Linked DNA regions of Homo sapiens: region 2 is linked to region 1. Evidence: promoter capture Hi-C in 16 types of primary human blood cells and fetal thymus (Javierre and others, 2016). All regions are on one chromosome and are shown on one strand. The core of a region is centred on a gene start or on the middle of the fragment in contact, and the rest is flanking DNA. Distances in the headings are between cores, read along the strand shown.

What was found. The method cuts DNA at HindIII sites, captures the fragments that hold promoters and counts their contacts. A CHiCAGO score of 5 or more calls a contact.
Region 2: a fragment that was not itself captured here is called in contact with the fragment with the promoter of RPL37A in region 1 in 1 of 17 cell types (total B cells); the score reaches 6.4 in total B cells.

The regions. Positions count from the first base shown.
Region 1 is chr2:216,496,065-216,502,196 of GRCh38, forward strand. RPL37A (ribosomal protein L37a) reads left to right here and starts at 2,780. Exons shown (of 4, transcript NM_000998.5): 1 at 2,780-2,813; 2 at 3,206-3,334; 3 at 3,885-3,967; 4 at 5,277-6,132. The coding sequence starts at 2,811. The coding sequence ends at 5,340. RPL37A-DT (RPL37A divergent transcript) reads right to left here and starts at 2,688. Exons shown (of 4, transcript NR_183317.1): 1 at 2,543-2,688. RefSeq lists a silencer at 25-94 and enhancers at 2,197-2,286, 2,467-2,856. The HindIII fragment of the contact is 3,327 bases long and covers 1,604-4,930 here.
Region 2 is chr2:237,088,006-237,093,645 of GRCh38, forward strand. COPS8 (COP9 signalosome subunit 8) reads left to right here. Exons shown (of 8, transcript NM_006710.5): 3 at 600-648; 4 at 1,857-1,989. Among named protein-coding and RNA genes, the nearest start is that of COPS8, 4.9 kb to the left of the region's middle. The HindIII fragment of the contact is 1,648 bases long and covers 718-2,365 here.

The DNA of each region.
Region 1 (6,132 bases), core at 1,530-4,029:
GGGGAGGTCAAGGCTATAGTGAGCTGTGATCACACCACTGCACACCAGCCTGGGGAACAGAGCAAGACCCTGTCTCAAAACAAAACAAAACAAATAAAAACAAACCCTGAGATCTGGGGCAGTAGGTATACTCGTCGTTACTGGAGATGTTTGGGGTTTTTTTTTTAATGGTAGTTTTTTTAGATTATAAAAGAAACACATGCTCATTATAAAAGATAATTAGAAAATGCAAAAAATGTATGCAAAAATCAATTTGACTATTCCCACTATCCACTACTTTTTGCTTTTTCTCCTCCTTGAATTTACACAGCCAGAGCTGGAATAACAGATTGGGGAGGATAAAGAGACAACTACCTTTATTCCACAAAATTGTGCAAGATGTGCTGACATAAAGCACATGGTGGGTCACTGCCCCAGTGGCACTCAAAGTCTGGAAGCTCTTCCTGGAATCATAGGAGGGAAGAACTGGACAGGACCTTGAAGACCACCTGGTCCAGCTCCTTGTAAATAAAGATGGTGGCTGCTGGGAGGTGGGGAGGTGGTTCTCCATGTGGGGACTGTGGCTTACCTAAAGTCAAACCACAAGGTAGTTACAGATCCTGGCCCAGACTGAGTGCCAGGGACCTGATTTTAATTCAACTATGTTTTCTGATGTGCTTTTTCAGTGCACTAAATATTATGATTTGGCGTAGTACAAGCTAGCAATTAGGAGAACTAACTTTGGGATCAGACAGACCAGATTTGAGTTCTAATTGCTGTGTGACATTGAGCAAGTTTCTTAACTTCCCTGAGATGAGTTTCTTTTTTCTTTCTTTTTTTGTTTTTGTTTTGAGAAAGGATCTCACTCTGTTGTCCAGGTTGGAGTGAAATGGTGTGATCATAGCTCACTGTAACCTCTGAACTCCTGGGCTCAAGCAATCCTCACGTTTCAGCCTTTTGAGCAGCTAGAACCACAGATGTGTGTCACCATACCTGGCCTATTATTTTTTTGTGTGTGTGGAGATGGGGTCTCGCTATATTGTCCAGGCTGCCTAGAACTCCTGGTCTCAAAGAATCTTTTCCAAGAGAGACTCTGTCTCAAAAAAAAAAAAAAAAAAAAAAAAAAAAGAAAAAGAAAAAAGAAAGAAAAGTATATAATAACTTGTCAGAGGTCCCACAGCTGGTAAATAGCAGAGTTCTGTTTTGAACCCATACTGAATCCAGAGCCTCTAAGTTCCTAATCATTACATGAGACTTCCTCTCTTTTTCTTAGTAATGAAGATAATAATCATTCCTATCATAAAGGATAATGGAAAATTAAATGAGAACATCCACATAAAATACTCAGTGCCTACCATGTGTTACCCTCCAACAATTGTAACCATATGAAGTACATAGCTGTTTGCAAGTTGCTTTGATTTGATTTGATTCATATATATTTTTTGAGACAGAGTCTCACTCTGTTGTCCAGGCTGGACTGCAGTGGCGTGATGACAGCTTACTGCAGCCTCAACCTCCCAGGCTCAAATGATCTTCCCACCTCAGCCCAGGTATGCAAGTTGACTTTAATACAATTGTGAGGAAAAGTGAACAGGTGCAAAATTATTTGAGACAGTTAATATTAAGCTTTGGGAACGGAAGCTACTTGTTACCGGACTTCTGATTGGAATCAGGGCCACACAATGCCTTTCAGCTCCCATGGTCTTTCTTGGCCCTCTAATCATGGATTCTCTCTTACACTCTTATTCCAGTAGTTTTCTGAGCTTCTTATTCTCTGGATTAGCCATCCCCTGAAAAAAGGCAACCAAACTTCCTAGTGTGTGTGTTCTACGTGAAGAAAGAAGATCATGTGTCTAGTTCCAGAACACACCCTCCCCACCCCCGGCCTCAACCAGAAATCCAATTCTTCCCTGCTGACCCCTTTGAGAGACCTGGAGGGACAGAGAATTGACGGTGGGTAAAGGGTAAGATGTTGGAGTTTAAGGGTTCAGGCCTGGACCAGGAAGCTGTCTTAACAGCCTAGTGTGGGGCCATGGAAGTGAGTTCTGAAATGAAGTGGAAGGCAGGCCATCCGCACTGAGATGCAGCAGCTGGAACACAAAACTCCAAGGTGACTGTTAACTTTTCCCCAGCCTTCCAATCTCAGACTTTCCTCAGGAAACACCAGGCTCTTCTGAATTAGTCGCGAGCAGAACCATCGTCCTTTCCTTCAGAACTCTGACCAGTTTGAAACTGTCTAACTTCTTAATGTGGCTATATGATCGTTTGCAGCTGGCCTGCAACTTGTTCTGGGAATGGAACCTTGGATTTTAGTCACCACTGTCGCTAGCATCCTGCACAGTCAGCCACTTTTAGAGAGCATAATGCAGAGGGGGAAATAAATGAGATTTGGAATAGAGACGGGGTTTCACCCTGCTGGCCAGGCTGGTCTCGAACTCCTGACCCACCCCGCCTCCCAAAGTGTTAGAATCACAAGCGTGAGCCACCGCGCCCGGCCCCACAAATGTAAGATTTATGCACTTCTCCAAGCCAAGTGCTGTGCATCGAATGGAGGAACTCGTACCTTTGCAGGATTTTGTGATATATGTGAAATAATCCGGACATGCTTCTGCTATGGTTGTTTGTCGCCATAGTTTGCGAATCTGGGTAAACCTGGATGAGAGAGACGCCTTACAATTGCAAACATTTCTCAGGAGGCCGCCTGAAAACGCCCAAACCATAGAGCTCAGTTCCTAGCTAGGCCTCTACCAGCCACTTCCGCTCGTCCGCCTAATACCGCGCCTGCGCACCGCGTCTCTTCCTTTCTGGGCTCGGACCTAGGTCGCGGCGACATGGTGAGTGTGGGTCTCTGTGCGGCCTAGAACTCTATCTGCCTGCATCTGTCCTTGTTTTCTTCTCCCGCACCCATCTCCTCTCCTGCCTTACCCCGTGTTCTCTCCTGTCTCCATGCCTTTGCAGGAGACACCATTGTCGGAAGCTCCCCAAGGCGGAGGGGCGGGGGCGCCTTGGCTGGGCCTGGCGCGCTCCAGCCGGGTTAACGCCGGGCCTTCGGAGCGCGCGGCCAGCCCTGGGCACTGGTTTCGTTGGGTTGAATTTAGGGAAAACTAGGTCATATGTAATTCACATGTCGGTCACACGTCAGTGAGGTGGAGGAACGGTGTGTGGAGGCTCCAGGGCCTGCCTGGGTTCCAGGTCTATCACTGGTTTCTCCCTTCACTCTAAACAGGCCAAACGTACCAAGAAAGTCGGGATCGTCGGTAAATACGGGACCCGCTATGGGGCCTCCCTCCGGAAAATGGTGAAGAAAATTGAAATCAGCCAGCACGCCAAGTACACTTGCTCTTTCTGTGGCAAAGTAAGTAAGGCAAAGTCTCTGGTGAGAGGAGAGGGAGGGCAGGTTTCTTACCCAAGTGAGGCCTGACTTCAAGGTATTTTATAAGCCGTGTGCTGGTGGGCAGTTGGAATTACTCATACCGTTGATTATGAGTTTTAAGATAAAAGTGTTGATGGTAACTTCAGATTTTGTGAGACGTTTTTCATTTAAAGAAAACCGCTTAAACGTTAATGGGTAAAATAATCATTTGACAGAGTGCCCCCAGCCTAAGCCAAACCTGCTTTGTGGGAAATGATTCCATCAGTTTTGTCTACTGATGTTTCTGCACCAACTCCCAAGATGTCTGTGCATCTAATACCATTCTACTTGTTCTGCGAGGGATTTTTGTTTGATAAAGGTTTGAACGTTTATGTGCAAAATACTGCATTACAGCAATCCCTGTTTTGTTTTTGAGGGAGAAAGGGAGGCTTTCACATCCCTGACAATAAGGTGAATCCAAATTTAGACTTCTGGATGCTTGTAAGAGAAAATACTTACTTGGTTCATAGTGAAAATTGGTTCTCTTTTATAGACCAAGATGAAGAGACGAGCTGTGGGGATCTGGCACTGTGGTTCCTGCATGAAGACAGTGGCTGGCGGTGCCTGGACGTACAAGTGAGTCTAGTTCCTTGTGGTATTTGGAAGTGTGTGGACCACATAGGCCCAAATTCCAGGTTGCTGCTGGATGGGCTAGTTTTAACACTTTCTCAGGACTGAGAGAATAAGGATGCCTTTGTATTTTCAGGATTCTTCCGTGGTGGTTTATTTTCAGTTATTGAAAGAGTAAACACAAAACTACCAAAATAGAAGTCGGAAATCTAATTCACAGACTACTTTAGAATTTGATGGTCACTGGGCACATTGTTGTGAACATTGTCATGATACTGTGCAGGTCCATTAGTGGGGCTGAATCTACTGAACGTTGATTTGCACTGCAAGTTTTGATAAAAATAGGTGAAGGGGTCAGTTAGTTCAAAACTGTATTTGGAACTTGAGGCCATCAGGACCACCACAGTTTCGTCTTTCTGAACAGTATTAGACTGCTGCAGGTTTGTGAATCTGCAACTCAGTATCACCTGACAGGGCGATACTACAAACACTATACTACAAACTAGCATCTAGACCTGTGTTGTCCAATACACTAAGCACATATATGGCTAGTGTAATTAAAGAATTGGATTTTAAAGTTTCAGTCAATTTAAACTTAAACCGAAGCAGTGGAAAATGTTGAAATATATATATATTCCTTGTGGGGGTTTTTATTAGGGCAGAATGGAAAATGGGAACTAGAGTGCTTTCTTGGTTCTGATAGGAAAGTGAATTATTTATATACTTACAATACAGGATGGTGATTTTCAGGTATAGTTCCTGAATTTTATGGTAAAACTTTTGTAGTCATTTCAATAGCTGTCTTTCCCAAAGGCACTTTAGTGTCCGCTCTTATTTCCTTAATCATTGTTCTCACTGTATCATCTTGTAATTTATTCATTTCTTGTAATCTGTCCATTCCCTTTTAATAAGTTTAGGTCAGCCTCTTAGAACCATTTCTTTTTCATGGGATGGGGTAGGGGGAGTTAAAGCTTGCTTGTCCACAACTGAGTTACTTATAAAAAAAAAAGCAACTCTGGTTGAGAAATCAGATGCATGAGATTGTATGTCTAATTCTGCAAGATCCTGAAGGCATGGCTCTTAAAGGATGCCATCATGTAGTTTAGAAGCCACTAATTTCCGAGGAGTAATCTAATGTTGGTTAGATCTTTGGATTGACTGCAGCAAAGTATTGGTAGAGCAGTCTATCTCAGTATAATTCTTTCTAGGAAAATTTGGGAAGCGACTTTAACACAAAAACGAGGCAGATTTACTTATTTGCCATTTTCTATGTTAACATGCTTAATTATGTTGGAAACTGAATCTTTCTTTCCAGTACCACTTCCGCTGTCACGGTAAAGTCCGCCATCAGAAGACTGAAGGAGTTGAAAGACCAGTAGACGCTCCTCTACTCTTTGAGACATCACTGGCCTATAATAAATGGGTTAATTTATGTAACAAAATTGCCTTGGCTTGTTAACTTTATTAGACATTCTGATGTTTGCATTGTGTAAATACTGTTGTATTGGAAAAGCATGCCAAGATGGATTATTGTAATTCAGTGTCTTTTTTAGTAGTCAAATGGTAAAATGCAGCATAAGAATATAAGTCTTCCAAGTTAGATATGAGTGTTAGCTTTTTATAAGTCTGCTCCTGCCAGTTTGACTTTGAGATACATTGGAGCCAACTGTAAACTTTAGTTTTTAAATTACAGTTAGTTTTTTTGTTTGTTTTTGAGGCGGAGTCTCTGTTACCCAGGCTGGAGTGCAGTATACCAGTCTTGGCCCACTTCAACCTCCACTTCTTAGGTTCAAGCGATTCTCCTGCCTCAGCCTCCTGAGTAGCTGGGATTACAGGCACGCACCACCATACCTGGCTAATTTTTGTATTTTGAGTAGAGATGGAGTTTTCACCACATTGGCCAGGCTGTTCTTGAACTGACCTCAAGCGATCCACCTGCCTTGGCCTTCCAGAGTGCTGGGATTACAGGTGTGAGCCACCACGCCCAGCCTTGCATTTAATATTTTTATAATGTGTCTAGGCTGGGTGCGGTGACTCACGCCTGAAATCCCAGCACTTTGGGTGGCTGAGGCAGGTGGATTACTTGAGGCCAGGAGATTGAGACCAGTGTGGCCAACATAGCAAAAACCCGTCTCGACGAAAAATACAAAAAATAGCTTGGTATGGTGGCA
Region 2 (5,640 bases), core at 292-2,791, about 21 Mb after region 1:
ATAACATTTTATTTTAAACTCTTCCAAAACCTTTCTTTTATATCTTTTTAAAAACTAAATTGAAATTTTTATTACACATATGTAAGGTTTTTGTTTTTGTTTTGTAAAACTGTCATTATATGTTTGTTGTAGTTCAAGCCTCCAAACCCATAAAAACTCCTGCCTCAGAAGCTGTGTCCCACTGGTAGGAGGGGCTGTAATCGGGAGAGAAGTGTTGTGTACCAGGCTTATTGTCAGGGAATGCTACAGCCTTGATAGTACATAAATTTGTTTACTTTTATATCCTAATAAATAATTTGGGCCGTCTATAAATCCTCGTGTTTTTAGTGTGCTGTTGCCTAAATTTAGGATATGGATTATTATTTTTAAAAAATTCACTAGAAATGGCAAAATATTACTTTGGTAAAAATATTTCATGTCCTTTTTATCTGGAAAACCACTATTGTTTCCCCAAAACAAATTCATATAAAACTAAATTTTACTTTGTGTTATGTGAAGTATACTTCTGTATGTTTGGCTTGGGACCTGGTAGTTTTTAACATTTCCTGAGATGATTATGTTTTTAATTGATTATTCTTCTTTGTGGTGGCGTAAATTAGGAATAATGCAAGATATCTTTGGAAAAGAATACCACCTGCTATAAAATCTGTAAGTATCCTTTAAACCTATTTTACTGCTTTAATGTAATGACATTCCCTTAAATGGCAACCTTTTATAAGCTTATGTTTTCTATCTGACGTCCTAGTAATAGTCATCAGATTGGTATTAAGGATTCGAAATAAATCTTCAGAGTCCTCTAATCAGAAATTTGAATTTTGCTGGGATGGTGTAGAATTTCTGCTCAGTTCCTACTGATTAGATTTCTTGAGACGCTTTTATGTGCAGCTTCCCTAGTTAAACAGCTGAGCCAGTTTAGATGAAGGAAGCTCCTGGAGGTGGCGGAGGCAGCTGAGGTGATTTTCAGCTGGTTTATGTTGCTTCCTATAATGGTACTTATTTTGAAACTGCCATCGTTTACAAGAATACTCTAAGAATGATTGACAGCAATAAGATTATTTTTGTTAATTAGGATTTTAAATTTCTTATTTTGGTTGGGAGATTAGAAGAAATAGCCTGTGAAAAGGTTCTTCCAAAGTGGAATGAAGTAAAATTTTAATGTCAAATGATTCCATGTGTCTAACATGAGTGTCAAGTGAAATTTTTAACATTCTCGGGATATTACCAAGAATTCATCTAAACTTTTGTTTATTGATATTCATCAAGAGATCGGATTAGTATTTTTACTCTTTTTTTTTCCCTCATACATTCTGTTCTGTTAAGTAAGATTGGAATATTCCTCAGCTTCTTTGGCTAAATAAAGAAGTACTATAAATCATGCACATAAGTTTCAATGGCGTTAGTGGAAACTCAATCCTTAGAGAGGCTACAATGTATGACATCTTAGATTGAGAGTCTCTATTGTTAACCATTTTGCTATTACTTTTGACCTAAATATATATTCATAATATATCTATGAAATACAAATACAACATCTTTAAAAACAATCCTTAAGCTAATTAGTCCCCAGGCTTAATTCTGAAATGTTTTTTGACTACTTTCTCATGCCTTAATTTGCTATTGTAATAAATTTATATCAGCCCTACAGATAAATTTTACCTTACTGCTCATAGTGTTTAAAAACCTTTTGATAGTGATTGGGCTGAAAAAGTAATTGCATCTTTTAAAATAAATGTTGAATTAGGTTTTAATGATGTAGCTAACAAGTTTTTATATCATTTCTGGTATTTTGTTTTAAGATACAATCATTGGTGCATTTACAGAGTGAATACCCTCTAAGGCAATAATATTTATTGCAGGCAAATTCTGAACTTGGGGGAATTTGGTCAGTAGGACAAAGAATCTGGCAGAGAGATTTCCCTGGGATCTATACAACCATCAACGCTCACCAGTGGTCTGAGACGGTCCAGCCAATTATGGAAGCACTTAGAGGTAGTGTTTCTTTGTGGTTAAAAATGAAATTAGATGAGACTTAGTCCCTAAGTGCTGCAGTGTTGAAGTAATAAATCAGTGGTGTGTGTTTAAGTAGATATTTTTGATAGGTGAAAAGAGCAGTTTTCAGAATTTTTTAGATTTGCCCTAATCATGCTTCTTCATTTTTTGTTGCTTGAGATTACATTGGCTGCTGTGCTTTTGTTGTTTCTTAATTCTAGACAGAAATTGCTCGTCAGTTTTAAGAGTTTTTTTTGCTATTAAAACGAGATCTTGTAATATTCTAATAAGTTTAAGGTATGGGTTTGTAGAGATGTGAAAATAGAGACTGCTCTTTGAATTTTGTCAGCCTCAGCCTTTGATAGGTGTTGTCTTAAGCTTCTGGATTTTATAATTTATCAGTTTAATACATAGATGCTCAAATGTGTTTTTAATTGCTTTGAAAGATTACAAGCCTGGTGTGACAGAGCACTGATCCCACAATAAAATCTCATTCCCTGCCTCTCTACAGTCTCTCACCCCTAGCATTTGCTTCCAGTCCTCCTGGTTCACTCTTTATAAAATTATATAATCTTGTTTTATGTTGTCATGTACTGTTATTTCTTATTGTTACCCTTACTTCCATAGTTAATATCCACCTTCACTGTATGCCTTCCTGCTGTGGAGGAAGTCAGTGAGCAGGAATTTTTTTAATAACTGTTCATCACTCTGCTAAGGGATATCAGCTTTACAGGGCAGCAGACAGCAGAGATTGTTTCTGAAATGCACATAATTCCCTTGGAATGGTAAAATTCTTAGCAGCATAAAACATAACAATGTAAGTGACAGAACAGGAGGCAGCTACTTTAAATGTGAATGAAATGAGCAGAGTCCTAAGGCAGGCAGATAGATGGGAAGGGAGGAGTGTGGAAGAAGATTGCACAGGTACAGCAGGGGCAGTTTCAGAAAGTAGCACCAGAAACCTCTTCATATAAGCCCTGAGGAATTAGCGTTATAGTGGACTTCCATAGTATCCTCGTGATTCAGCCTTGTGATTGTGGTGGGGCGGTCACAGGCCATGTGCCTTTTCCCAGTGTTTTACAGCGGGTTGATTGGCAGGACTGGGCTTGGGAACTCCTTACTCGTTCAGCAAGCATTCTCTTGTGCACCGTCGGGTCCGTAGTTTTATTCCTTCCCGGAGCCGCCTCTCACTGAATTCCATGAGATTGAGAATTCCTGGCAAGCAGTTCAGTAGACCCAGGAAAGGCTATATAGCGTACCATGCGGGAGTTTAAGCTCTGGGTCCTTGCTTCCGGAGTTCAAATTCTGATTCTGTCACTTACTAGGGTGACTCCTCAGTGTCTTATTTTCCTCATTTGTGAAATGTGATTAGAAATAGTACTTTTTCAGGTTGTAAATGAGTTAATATATAAACATGTACCTTATTCTAAAGCACTACAGTATTCCTGAACATATCCTGAGACTTTTACAAATCTCCAGATTCATGAATGGTACTGTGGTTTCCTTTGTAAAATGCAGCCAGGTCAGGATAGTCTCTTAACAGATTGGTCTTACTGATGAATTTAACATTTTGCTTCTTAACTTATTAGAAACTTATTTTCTAGTTGAGAACAATCACTTTCTTAGATCTCTTTCCATTCTCTTCTAAATTAGGCACAGTCCTATTAGAAAACTGAAAATGACTTAAGAGAAGCTAGTGAAAACTATTTTTGCAGGAAACAAGGGCTGAGGAAGTACTTAGAAACTAGGTAGACAGTAGCCATTCTCATCTGAGGCTTGAAAGGGCAAGGCGAGGGGCCAGTGTTACTGGGGCTGCCCCACAGGATGGATACAGAAGGTCAGCTGGAGCAAGGCAGGGAAAGGGCATAGGAAGTGAATTCCCTGACCTTCCTTCCCAGCCTCTGACCTGATAGAGCCCCAATTCGCCAAAGCAAGAGAGCTCAGGTGCAACAGGCATTGGCGGCCAACCTCCCTGGCACACAGCATGGCTGGGAAAGACAGAAGAGGATTCGAAAGGATGGGAGTGACTAGTTCATCTTCCCTTCTGTCTCCAGCACTGGCAGTGATGGATGAGCAGCACTTGAGTATTTGTTGAACAACTGAGTTTGCATTCTGTTAGCATTTGTTTTCACCAAAAATGTGTTCCATCAACTACTGCCACAGATATTAGGTGCTGGCTCAATTTATTCCACCTTCCAGCGTGTCATTCTAGGGCCTGAGGTTACAGATTTCACAACTTGAGGATCACAGAGTGACTAGTCGGAATGTAGATGTGATTCGTGCCAAGTGGATATTGCAGCTTCTGAGACAGAGAACACTTAGCCTTTATTTTTGCTTTGTCAACTCACTTCTCCCATCACATGTTTTTCTTTCCTTTTCCAGTGATATCTTTTTACTTTTCTCTCCCTTTTATCTCCTCCATTCTTACTGTATTCCTGTTTTATTCCCCACTCTGAAAATATGGCCAGAATATTTGAACTGAAGTAAATGTTTTTGAAATACAGTTGACTTACCAAATGAATATAGTTTTATGGTGTATACTTTTACTTCTCTAAAAAAAAAAAGTATACTTTCCATTGTTGGCTCTTTTCCATTGTTGGCTCAGTTCTTTTCCATTGAATGTATGCAGCCTTAATAGAAAACGTTTCTTGGTATTGCAAAGTCTGTTAGGTTACAGGCTGGTTGAAGGAAGGAAGGAACCTACAATAATAAGTGTAAAGCCACAGAAGGAAGAGCAGACAGTGGCTGAGTGAAAGCTGGAGAGGATGTCGGGCTCAGATGAGGGGAAGGGATGGGAGTGTCGGCAGTTTTTAAGGAATCTGAGAAAACAAAGCCTAAGTGTTGGAGTCGTGCCCCATTTTGGTCCTCGTGATGCCATCAACAAGCATGTATTTGGCATATATTTCACTGGAGATGCTAGGTGTTTGGGGGACTTTGAGGATAAGAGATACCCCTTCCTGTCGAGAAGTTTGGAATATAATTGAAAAGAAGGGGATAGGTGGAACAGTGTCTGCCGTAGTGGAAAGTTGCTTGTTAAAGTAGAAGTGTAAACAATACTGCTGAGTTTAGAGAAGGGCAGAGATCGTAATGAATTATAAACAGACTTAGGAATGGTAGAGAGCAGACAGGAGGGCATTTCAGGCCACGGGATAGCATAAACCAAAAGCCCCAGGGGGAGAAGGTGTAAGACTTGTCTGAGAGCCAGTGGACTCGTTTGGCACAAAGGGTATCTGGGGGAATTGGTGTAGTTTGACAATGTCCCAGGAATGGAGAGAAGATTTTAAATATGTTAGGGTGTTTGTTTTACATATGTACACTGGCCTATTAAATATGGAAAGTAAAATCCAGAATATTTCCTAAGCATGTTGACCACCAGGTGGAGGAGCTCTTGCATTACCAATGAGCAATGCCCAGGGAGAAAGGCCAGCTGGTTTCACAGTGCTCAACTCTACCGTACTCCTGAGTTTATTTAATTGGGTATGGAAGCCTGGGGACAATCCTAAATGCCACTTTCAGGAAAGTTTTCGTTGCTGGTATTGTTTGGCAGTCCCTTCTTAGAGTCATTCTTTCAAGGTGGGAATTTAGGATTTTGAACCTTAATTCAGTCAAGAGTTTGATGCAGACTTGGAAGAATGCTCCAGTTACAAGATT